Regions from separate parts of the Homo sapiens genome. Here region 2 is linked to region 1. Evidence: promoter capture Hi-C in human tissues and cell types (Jung and others, 2019). All regions are on one chromosome and are shown on one strand. Each heading gives the region's core, a stretch centred on a gene start or on the middle of the fragment in contact. The rest is flanking DNA. Distances are from core to core; before and after follow the strand shown. Region 1 holds the start of PPP6R2 (protein phosphatase 6 regulatory subunit 2). Region 2 overlaps PPP6R2 (protein phosphatase 6 regulatory subunit 2).

What was found. Contacts are between HindIII fragments. The study calls those that stand out against the background at their distance.
Region 2: a fragment that was not itself captured here is called in contact with the fragment with the promoter of PPP6R2 in region 1 in 2 of the 25 tissues and cell types used here (H1 embryonic stem cells and dorsolateral prefrontal cortex).

What each region holds. Positions count from the first base shown.
Region 1 is chr22:50,342,015-50,347,718 of GRCh38, reverse strand. It overlaps PPP6R2 (protein phosphatase 6 regulatory subunit 2), which reads right to left and starts at 4,392. Exons shown (of 24, transcript NM_001242898.2): 1 at 4,169-4,392. RefSeq lists silencers at 4,132-4,211, 4,222-4,501, 4,772-4,941 and an enhancer at 5,038-5,684. The HindIII fragment of the contact is 17,181 bases long and covers 1-5,704 here.
Region 2 is chr22:50,423,539-50,429,242 of GRCh38, reverse strand. It overlaps PPP6R2 (protein phosphatase 6 regulatory subunit 2), which reads right to left. Exons shown (of 24, transcript NM_001242898.2): 10 at 5,629-5,704. Among named protein-coding and RNA genes, the nearest start is that of MIR12114, 19 kb to the right of the region's middle. The HindIII fragment of the contact is 3,827 bases long and covers 1,595-5,421 here.

The DNA.
Region 1 (5,704 bases), core at 3,143-5,642:
AAAATCAGTGGGTACAGTGACAAAGAGGGGGCTGCAGTGAAAGGCAGGGACTAAATGGAAGTGACAGACTTGGGGGAGCTGGTGCTGACAGGTCAGGGAATGAGCAGCAAATTGGGAGGAGTCAGTAACAAGAGAGTGGACAAAGCAGGTAGGGAAGCTGCGAGTACACAGAGTGGCAGGTCGGGGGACAGTACGGTGCATGGGGGAAGGTGACAGGCTGAAGGAAGAGATGATGGGGATGGAAGCAACAGGGCAGTGCGGGGTAAGGTGAGGTTAGATGACTGGTGATATCTCAAGCCGTGATGGGGAGCGCGACAGGAAAAGACGAGTAGTGTTGGAAAGGGTTAGGAAATAATGGAAAGGGGAATCAGTGATTGGACAAGAGGGGTGATGACAGCGGGCACTGAAAGTTCTCCCACTGACAGGCAGGAGAGAAGCAGTGGGGAGACACTGACAGGTGGGGTCACTAACAGCAGGGCAGGGTACTAATGGGTCCCTAACAGATAAGGGATGAAGGAGGTAGCATGAAAGGGGACAGGAACTGACAACAGGGGAGAACTGATGGGGAGGATCTGACAGGCACTAACACAGAGGCCGATAGCAAAGAGCGGAAGGGCCACAACAGGCAGGATGAGGGAGACACTTATGAGGGAAACTTACTGACAGTGGGGCTCACTGACAGAGGCACTGGCACTGATGGGGGGCACTGACAGAGAAGATCAATGACAGGTGGGGACATTGCTGACAGAAGGGGTCACAGAGCGCTTGGACTGACAAGGAAGGGCACTGGCAGGGGAGGGATTATGCGGTCAGTGACTGACGGGTACGGGTGGGGGTGCAGGCACTGATGGGAAGTGGGGACATGACAGAAAGAAAATAATTGACTGGGGGGGCACTGGCTGACGGGGGACAGGGATGCGGGACTCTGACTGGGGGACACTGATGGGGAGCAGAGTGGACTGACGGTGGGGGAGCACTGACCAACAGTGGAGGCACTGACCAGTGCGCGGACTGACAGATGCGGAGGCACTGACCGACAGGAGGAGCATGACTTGCAAGGGGCACTGACTGACGGTGGGGGGCACTGATGGGTGGGGTGGGGACTGATGGGTGAGGTGCAATGACTAGCTAGCAGGGGACACTGACTGGTGCAGGAAGCACTGACTGGTGTAGGGTGGGGGAACAGAAGGAGGGCACTGACTGGGGGGGCACTGACTGACTGGGAGGGAACTGACTGGAGGGGGCCCTGACTTGGGAGGAAACTGACTTGGGGGGCACTTACTGGAGGGGAACTGACTGGAGTGGGCACTGACTGGGGGCACTGATTTGGGGGGCACTGACTGGAGGGGGCACTGACGGGGGAACTGATTGCGGGGGGAACTGACTGGGGGGGCACTGACTGAGGGGAACTGACTGGGGGACACTGAAGGGGGCACTGACTGGGGGGAACTGACTAGGGGATGCACTGACTGGGGAGAACTTACTGGAGGGGCACTGACTGGAGGGGACAGTGACTGACTTGGGGGGGGCACTGACTGGGGGGCACTGACTGACTGGGGGAACTGACTGGAGGGGGAACTGACTGACTTGGGGGGCACTGACTGGGGGGCAACTGACTGGGGGAACTGACTGGAGGGGGCACTGACTGGGTGGGTCACTGACTGGAGGGTTCACTGACTGGGGGGAACTGACTAGAGGATGCACTGACTGGGGGGAACTGACTGGAGGGGGGCACTGACTGGGGGGGAACTGACTGGAGGGGGCACTGACTGGGTGGGTCACTGACTGGAGGGTTCACTGACTGGGGGGAACTGACTAGAGGATGCACTGACTGGGGGGAACTGACTGGAGGGGGGCACTGACTGGGGGGGAACTGACTGGAGGGGGCACTGACTTGGGGGGCACTGACTGGGGGGAAACTGACTGGAGGGGGCACTGACTGGGGGGGGGAACTGACCGGGGGGGGGGAACTGACTGGAGGGGGCACTGACTAGGGGGGCACTGATGGGGGGAACTGACTGGAGGGGGCACTGACTGGAGGGAAACTGACTGGGGGGAAACTGACTGGGGGGGAACTGACTGGAGGGGGCACTGACTGGGGGGAAACTGACTGGAGGGGGCACTGACTGGAGGGGGCACTGACTGGGGGGCACTGACTGGAGGGAAACTGACTGGGGGAAAACTGACTGGGGGGAACTGACTGGAGGGGGCACTGACTGGGGGGAAACTGACTGGAGGGGGCACTGACTGGAGGGGGCACTGACTGGGGGGCACTGACTGGAGGGAAACTGACTGGGGGGAAACTGACTGGGGGGAACTGACTGGAGGGGGCACTGACTGGGGGAACTGACTAGAGGGTGTACTGACTGGGGGGGGGAACTGACTGGAGGGGGCACTGACTGGGGGGGGAACTGACTGGAGGGGGCACTGACTGGGGGAAACTGACTGGAGGAGGCACTGACTGGGGGGGAACTGACTGGAGGGGGCACTGACTGGGGGAACTGACTGGAGGGGGCACTGACTTGGGGGGGAACTGACTGGAGGGGGCACTGACTGGGGGGAATTGACTGGAGGGGGCACTGACTGGGGGGCACTGACTGGGGGGAAACTGACTGGGGGGGCACTGACTGGGGGGAACTGACTGGAGGGGGCACTGACTGGGGGAAACTGACTGGAGGAGGCACTGACTGGGGGAAACTGACTGGAGGAGGCACTGACTGGGGGAAACTGACTGGAGGAGGCACTGACTGGGGGGAAACTGACTAGAGGGGGCACTGACTGGGGGGGAACTGACTAGAGGGGGCACTGACTGGGGGGGAACTGACTAGAGGGGGCACTGACTGGGGGGGAACTGACTAGAGGGGGCACTGACTGGGGGGGAACTGACTAGAGGGGGCACTGACTGGGGGGGGAACTGACTGGAGGGGGCACTGACTGGGGGAAACTGACTGGAGGAGGCACTGACTGGGGGAAACTGACTGGAGGAGGCACTGACTGGGGGGGAACTGACTGGAGGGGGCACTGACTAGGGGGAATTGACTGGAGGGGGCACTGACTGGGGGGCACTGACTGGGGGGAAACTGACTGGGGGGGCACTGACTGGGGGGAACTGACTGGAGGGGGCACTGACTGGGGGAAACTGACTGGAGGAGGCACTGACTGGGGGGAATTGACTGGAGGGGGCACTGACTGGGGGGAATTGACTGGAGGGGGCACTGACTGGGGGGCACTGACTGGGGGGAAACTGACTGGGGGGGCACTGACTGGGGGGGAACTGACTGGAGGGGGCACTGACTGGGGGAACTGACTGAAGGGGGCACTGACTGGGGGGGGAACTGACTGGAGGGGGCACTGACTGGGGGGAATTGACTGGAGGGGGCACTGACTGGGGGGCACTGACTGGGGGGCACTGACTGGGGGGAAACTGACTGGGGGGGCACTGACTGGGGGGAACTGACTGGAGGGGGCACTGACTGGGGGAAACTGACTGGAGGAGGCACTGACTGGGGGAAACTGACTGGAGGAGGCACTGACTGGGGGAAACTGACTGGAGGAGGCACTGACTGGGGGGAAACTGACTAGAGGGGGCACTGACTGGGGGGGAACTGACTAGAGGGGGCACTGACTGGGGGGGAACTGACTAGAGGGGGCACTGACTGGGGGGGGAACTGACTGGAGGGGGCACTGACTGGGGGAAACTGACTGGAGGAGGCACTGACTGGGGGAAACTGACTGGAGGAGGCACTGACTGGGGGGGAACTGACTGGAGGGGGCACTGACTGGGGGGAAACTGACTGGAGGGGGCACTGACTGGGGGGGAACTGACTGGAGGGGGCACTGACTGGGGGGCACTGACTGGGGGGAAACTGACTGGGGGGAAACTGACTGGGGGGGAACTGACTGGGGGGGAACTGACTGGAGGGGGCACTGACTGGGGGAACTGACTAGAGGGTGCACTAACTGGGGGGGAACTGACTGGAGGGGGCACTGACTGACTTGGGGGGGGCACTGACTCCGGGGGCACCGACTGGGGGGAACTGACTGGAGGGGGAACTGACTGACTGGGGGATAACTATCTGGAGGGGGCACTGACTGACTCGGGGAGAAGTGACTTGGGGGGCACTGGCAGACTGGGGGCCGGGTCTGAGCGGCGGGCGGCCGCACTCACCTGCCCTGCGGGCCGGGCGTCGCGGCAGCTCTTCGGAGGCCCGTGTGGAGGCCCGAGCGGAGGCCAGGGCGCTGGTGGAGGCAAAGCCCGGGCGGCCTCGGGCGGGCCGCACACACATGGGCCCGGCCGAGGGCGCAGCGCCTACGGACACCGGCACGGCCGGCCGGCGGCTCGAGACCGACTCGGGGCCGCGGGCGGCACTCCGATCGCTCCAAAATGGCGGCGGCGGCGCACGGGCACGCGCTCCGGGGGCGGGGTCTCCGCTTGGGGCGCGCACGCTCGCGGCCGGGGGCGGGGCCGCGCGGGTGGGCGGGGCCGGGACCTGGGCCGGCTCTCCGGGCCCCCTGGAGTGGGGCACTCGGTGAAACCCGCGTGGGAGCACGAGGGCTTGGGTGTGCTGACTGCTGCCTTGGAGTGGGTGGGGTAAGAGTGCGTCTTTCCCCTTTTACGTTTCCCTTTGAGGTATTGGCTAAAGTTTTGTGCAAGCATAGTTAATTTTGTTGTAGCCACAAAACAATCCTCGCGTGGCCCGACGCAGCATTTGAGAGACACACACCTGGGGCAGGGGTTTCCCCCGTGGCCCAGGAAAGGGCCTGTTCTCCCGGGCCTCCCTCCTGCCACAGGCCCCTCCCAGAGGCCGCGGGGCGTGGACGCCCCGAGCAGCAGGAGCGGGCTCAGCCCCGGGCGCCAGGCCTGGCCCCTCCCCGTCCCGCGTCCTGCCTGGACCCGGAGTGCCTGAGCCGCCTCCAGACAGTTTTCTCCAGGTGCGCTACGGGTTCTTGCACGGCGTTTTGCAAATTAAGTATGTGCCTATTTAACAAGTGCTGGAATTGTTTAATTCCATCAAAATAATTTCAAAAATGATTACTATTATTTCAGATGTTAGAGCGAGCCGTGGGTAAATGTTGGGAAAACATGGAGCACTTAAGGGATCTCTAAACGTTTTTTCCAGTTGTCAGTGTATTGCCCAGGATTCACCGATGCTCTCTGCGAAAGCGTATCTGGGCGGCTCAAATATTCGGTATTTCTCTTTTGCCAGCTGGCGCTGTTAGGCTTTGTCGGTAGAGGGCGCCAGAGACGTTGCAGGAGAAAAGGGCTTGGCCCTGCGGCTGGCGGCCCCGGGCTTCCCCGACGCCTGTCCCCTGCCCTGGTCAGCAGCACCCTCCTCGCCGGTTTTATAGCAGATGCCTCTGGCGAGCCTTTCCCCAGCAAAAGCTTTTCCCCTAGCATCCTAAGGGGCAGATTTCTGGCAGGTTCCGTTGAGGGAACTTCCAGGAAGTGGGGGTGAAAAAGCCTCAGCCTCACAACCTAGAGAAGAGACACCCTGCGTTCAGCAGGCTATGCCCTTCTCCTGCCCTCACCATGGTCTCCTTTGCAGGAGCGGGAGGTGCTGCTGAGTTGAGCTACGGAATGGGGACTGGGGCCAGGGGCACCAGATGCAGGAGATGCTCCTGCTGCCGTGAGCACGTGCAACTCTGCCTGATCTTGATACCCCTCCTGTGCTCAGCCAGTGCAACTGGGGTGAGCAGGAGCCCC
Region 2 (5,704 bases), core at 2,259-4,758, 82 kb before region 1:
CCTGGCCAACGTGGTGAAACCCCATCTTTACTGAAAATACAAAAATTAGCCGGGCATGGTGGCACACGCCTGTAATCCCAGCTACTTGGGAGGCTGAGGCAGGAGAATCGCCTGAGCCCAGGAGGCGGCGGTTGCCGTGAGCCAAGATCATGCCACTGCACTCCAGCCTGGGCAACAAGAGCAAAACTCTGTCTCAAAAAAAAAAAAAAATTCAACATACTTTCTTGATAGAACACTCAAACTAGGAATAGAAGGAAATATCTTCAGTATGATAAAGGCACCTATGAAAAGCCCATAGCTGACAACATATTCAATGCTGAAAGACTGAAAGCTTCTCTAAGATCAGGAGCGAGGCAAGGATGCCCACTCTCACCACTGCTATTCGGTCTTCTCTTAGCAGTCCCAGCCAGAGCAATTAGGCAAGAAAAAGAAATAAAAGGCATCCAAATGGTAAAGGCAAAAGTAAAATTATCTTTGTTCCCAAATGACATGATTTTTTTTTTTAGAATATGTATTTTTTTTTTGAGCAAGGATCTTGCTCTGTTGCCCTGGCTGAAGTACACACAGTGGCGTGATCTCGGCTCTGCAGCCCTGACCTCCCAGACTCAAGTGATCCTCCCTCTTCAGTCTCCTGAATAGCTGGGACTACAGATCTGTGCCACCACACCTGCCTAATTTTTATTCTTATTTATTTTGTAGAGACCAGGTCTCACTATGTTGCCCAGGCTGGTCTTAAACTCTTGGGTTCAAGCAATCCTCCTGTGTAGGCCTCCCAAAGTGCTGGGATTACAAACATGAGCCACCACACCTGACCTGATATGATCTTACACATAGAAAATTCTAAATATTCCAGATAAATTGCTAGAGCTAATAAATGAATTCAGCAAAGTTCTAGAATACAAAATTGACACACAAAAAAGCAGCTGCATTTCCATACACTAGCACTGAATAATCCAAAAAGGAAAGTAAGAAAACAATTTTATATATGACAGCATCCAGAAGAATTAAGTCAAGGAGATAAAAGATTTGTACACTGAAAACTACAAAACACTGCTACAAGAATTTAAAGACCTATTTAAAGTAAATGGGGCCAGGCACGGTGGCTCATGCCTATAATCCCAGCACTTTGGGAGGCCAATGTGGGCAGATCACTTGAGGTCAGGAGTTTGAGACCAACCTGGCCAACATGGTGAAACCCCATTTCTACTAAAAATATAAAAATTGGCTGGGCGTGGTGGCTCACGCCTATAATCCCAGCACTTTGGGAGGCCAAGGTGGGCGGATCACGAGGTCAGGAGATCGAGACCGTCCTGGCTAATATGGTGAAACCCTGTCTCTACTAAAAATACAAAAAATTAGCCACGCGAGGTAGCAGGCACCTGTAGTCCCAGCTACTTGGGAGGCTGAGGAAGGAGAATGGCGTGAACCTGGGGGGCGGAGCCTGCAGTGAGCCGAGATCGCGCCACTGCACTCCAGCCTGGGCGACAGCGAGACTCGGTCTCAAAAAAAACAAAACAAAACAAAAATTATTTTGTGGTGGCGGGCACCTGTAATCCCAGGTACTCATGAGGTTGAGGCAGGAGACTTGTTTGAACCCGGGAGGCAAAGGTTGCGGTGAGCCGAGATTGCGCCACTGCACTCCAGCCTGGGCAACAGGGTGAGGTTCTGTCTCAAAAATAGAAATAAATAAATAAATACATAGGAACACATCTGTGTTCATGGATTGAAGACTTAATATTGTTAAGAAGACAGTATTACCCAAAGTGATCTATAAATTCAATGCAATCCCTACCAAAATCTGAACAGCAATTTTGCAAACATTGAAAAACCCATCCCCAAATTCATACAGAATCTCACGGGATGACTTTGAATAGCCAAAACAATCTGGAAAAAGAACAAAGTTGGAAAACTCACACTTATCACTTACTACAAAGCTACAGTCACCAAAACAGTGCGACACTGGCATAAGGACAGACATATAAACCAACGAAACAGAACAGAGAGTCCAGAAAGAAACCTTTGCACACATCACCAGCTGTTTTTTTTTTTTTTTTGAGATGGAATCTCGCTCTGTTGCCCAGGCTGGAGTGCAGTGGCACAATCTCGGCTCACTGCAAGCTCCACCTCCCGGGTTCACACCATTCTCCTGCCTCAGCCTCCCAAGTAGCTGGGACTACAGGCACATGCCACCACACCCAGCTAATTTTTTCATATTTTTAGCAGAGACGGGGTTTCACTATGTTGGCCAGGATGGTCTCAATCTCCTGACCTCATGATCCACCCACCTCAGCCTCCCAAAGTGCTGGGATTACAGGCATGAGCCACTGCGCCCGGCCGGCCAGCTGGTTTTTAACAATTAGGCCGAGACCATTCATGGGGGAAAGGACGGTGTTTTTTTTTTTTTTTTTTGAAACAGAATCTCGCTCTGTCACCCAGGCTGGAGTGCAGTGGTGTGATCTTGGCTCACTGCAACCTCCGCCTCCCAGGTTCAAGTGATTCTCCTGCCTCAGCCTCCCAAGTAGCTGGGATTACAGGCGCTGCCACCATGCCTGGCTAATTTTTGTATTTTTTGTAGACATGGGGTTTCGCCACATTGGCCAGGCTGGTCACAAACTCCTGACCTCAGGTGATCTGCCTGCCTTGGCCTCCCAAAATACTGGGTTTACAGGCGTGAACCACCGTGCCCGGCCTAGGACAGTCTTTTCAACAAGTGCTGGGAAAACTGGATAACCCCATGCAAAAGAATGAAGCTGGACCCTTACTTTACACCAGATACAAAAATTAATTCAAAATGGATTAAAGACCTAAACATAAGAGAGAAAACATACAACTTTTTGAAGGAAGCATAGAGGAAAAGCTTCATGATACTGATTTGGCAATGACTTTTTTGGATATGACACCGAAAGCACAGGCAACAGAGAAAAAAAGATAATTGGATTTCATCAAAATTTAAAACTTGTGTGTCAAAGGTCATTATCAAGGAGTAAAGGCTGGGTGGCTGGTGGCTCACGCCTATAATTCCAGCACTTTGGGAGGCCACGGCCGGAGCATCACTTGAAGTCAGGAGTTCAAGGCCAGCCTGATCAACATAGCGAGACCCCATCTCTACAAAAAATATAAAAATTAGCTGGATGTGGTGGCGCATGCCTGCAGTCTTAGCTACTCAGGAGGCTGAGGTGGGAGGATCACTTGAGCCCAGGAGTTCAAGGTTACAGGAAGCTATGATCACTGTACTGCAAGACCCTACATCTAAAAAAAATTTTTTATGTAAAAAGATAACCCAAAGAAAATATTTGCATATATCTGATAAAGGATTAATATCCAGAATATATATAGAACTTCTAAAACTAAAAAAAAAAAACAAAAAAAAAACTCAATTCAAAAATGGTCAAAGGACTTGAATAGACATTTCTCCAACGAAGCTATTCACATGGCCAAAAAGCACGAGAAGATGCTCGACATCACTTGTCACACGGAGACACTGTTCCACACGCACATCAGATGACGAGCATCAGCCACACGGAGACACCGTTCCACACGCACATCAGATGACGAGCATCAGAAGAAGGAAGACAAGTGTCGGCGGGATGAGGGGGAGGATGAGGAGAAAGGGGAGACTTTGTTGACAGGAAGATAAAATGGTGCAGCCACTGTGGAAAGGTCTGGCCTCAAAACTTAATCATGGAATTGTCACATGACCTGGCCTCATAGGTATTTATCCAGAAGAACTTCTTCTTACTTTCAGAAGAACTGAAAGTAAGGACTCAAACAGGTATTTGTACACCCACATATACAGCAGTGTTATTCACAATAGCCAAGGCTGGAAGCAACCCAAGTCTCCACTGATGGATGGATGAATGGACAGAATGTGGCCCACCCACACAGTAATTTTTCAGCCTTAAAAAGGAAGGAAATTTGGACATACAGTACAATACTGAATGAACCTTGGGCACATAGTGCTAAGTGAAATAAGTCAGTCACAAAAAGATAATACTTTATGATTCCACTCATAAACTGTACCTAGAATAGTCAAATTCAGAGACAAAGACAATGGTGGTTGCCAGAGACTGTGGAGAGGGAGAATGAATGGGGAGTTAGTGTTTAACGGAGAGAGTTTCTGTTTGGGAAAATGAAAAACTTCTAGATGTGAATAATGGTAATGGCTATACAAGATTGTGAATGCACTGAGTGACACACCTTAAAATAGTTAAAACAGCCAAGTTTATGTTATGATATTTTACCACAGTAAATATAAAAGAGAGGAAGAAAGTGGAAGACAGAATTCTTTTGAAGAAGGAAAAGGGGCTGGGTGCAGTGGCTCAAGCCTGTAATCCCAGCACTTTGGGAGGCCAAGGCGGGTGGATCACGAGGTCAGGAGTTTGAGACCATCCTGGCCAACACGGTGAAACCCCGTCTCTACTAAAAATACAAAAAAAAATTAGCTGGGCATGGTGGCGCATGCCTGTAATCTCAGCTACTCGGGAGGCTGAGGCAGGAAAATCGCTTGAACCAGGGAGTCGGAGATTGCAGTGAGCCAAGGTCCCGCCACTGCACTCCAGCCTGGCGACAGAGAGAGACTCCATCTCAAAAAAAAAAAAAAAAAAAAAAAGAAGAAGAGGGAAAAGGAAAGTAGGTCTCTTTTGTAATTGCTTCCCTGATGCAGACTGGGATCTCACAGCCAAAGCAGTGCCCAGAACTCATACACGCTGACAGACGTTCCACACGCGGACAGACCTTCCACACGCTGACAGACGTTCCACACGCGGACGGACCTTCCACACGCTGACAGACGTTCCACACGCGGACGGACCTTCCACACGCGGACGGACCTTCCACACACTGACGGACCTTCCACACGCGGACGGACCTTCCACACGCGGACGGACCTTCCACACGCGGACAGACCTTCCACACGCTGACAGAACTGAGCCAGACAGCACTTCGAGCCCAGTTCTGGGACTAAGATTGCAGGGAGATTCCAGCAGAGCCCCAGAGCCAGGCAGAAGACGGGGGCTGCGTCTGCCAACAGGACCCACTAGGGCAGTGCCCTTCGTTCTCAGGGGAGCAGCCTCATGCTCTCCGCAGAGGAGCCCGCCACCCACAGCCAGGGCTGCTCACTGGCACTACTTGCCAGCACCGCCTGCCCCTTCCTCTCCTCAGCCACCTGGAGCATCATGCAAGCCGTCTGCGGGATGGAGAGGCACTGCCCGCTGGCTTTGACAAAAACTGCCAGGTTGGCCTTCTACTGTGGACGACAGGAGCTTCTCTTTTAGCCATTTTATACCTAATAACCACCGTGTAAGTTCTATGTTGTTCAGTCAGAACATGAGAAAGGAGGTAGACGTGTCACTCTATTCCATCAAACCGGGTTAGAAATCCGCCTTCTGCTTTCAGGGCAATTCTACGGTAGACTCGTCACTTCCCATGAGCCTGCAGCTGAGACACACCCCACTGCTGCTCTGTGCCCCGCCAGAGACCTGTAGTCCAGCCTTGGGACTTGGGACTGGAACCTCCCCGTGGCAGAGCTTTGTCCAAATGCTGGGGCCCTGCTCTGCTGCTCCTGACAAGTCCACAGGCCATGCCCGGCACACTCACAGACATGCAGGGCTGGCTGAGGGGCCCACTTACCAGCAGTAAGTCCATCGTGTTGAGCCGGCAGAGCTCCTGGTTGATGCTGGGTGTGTTTGTGTGCAGCAGTGCTGCC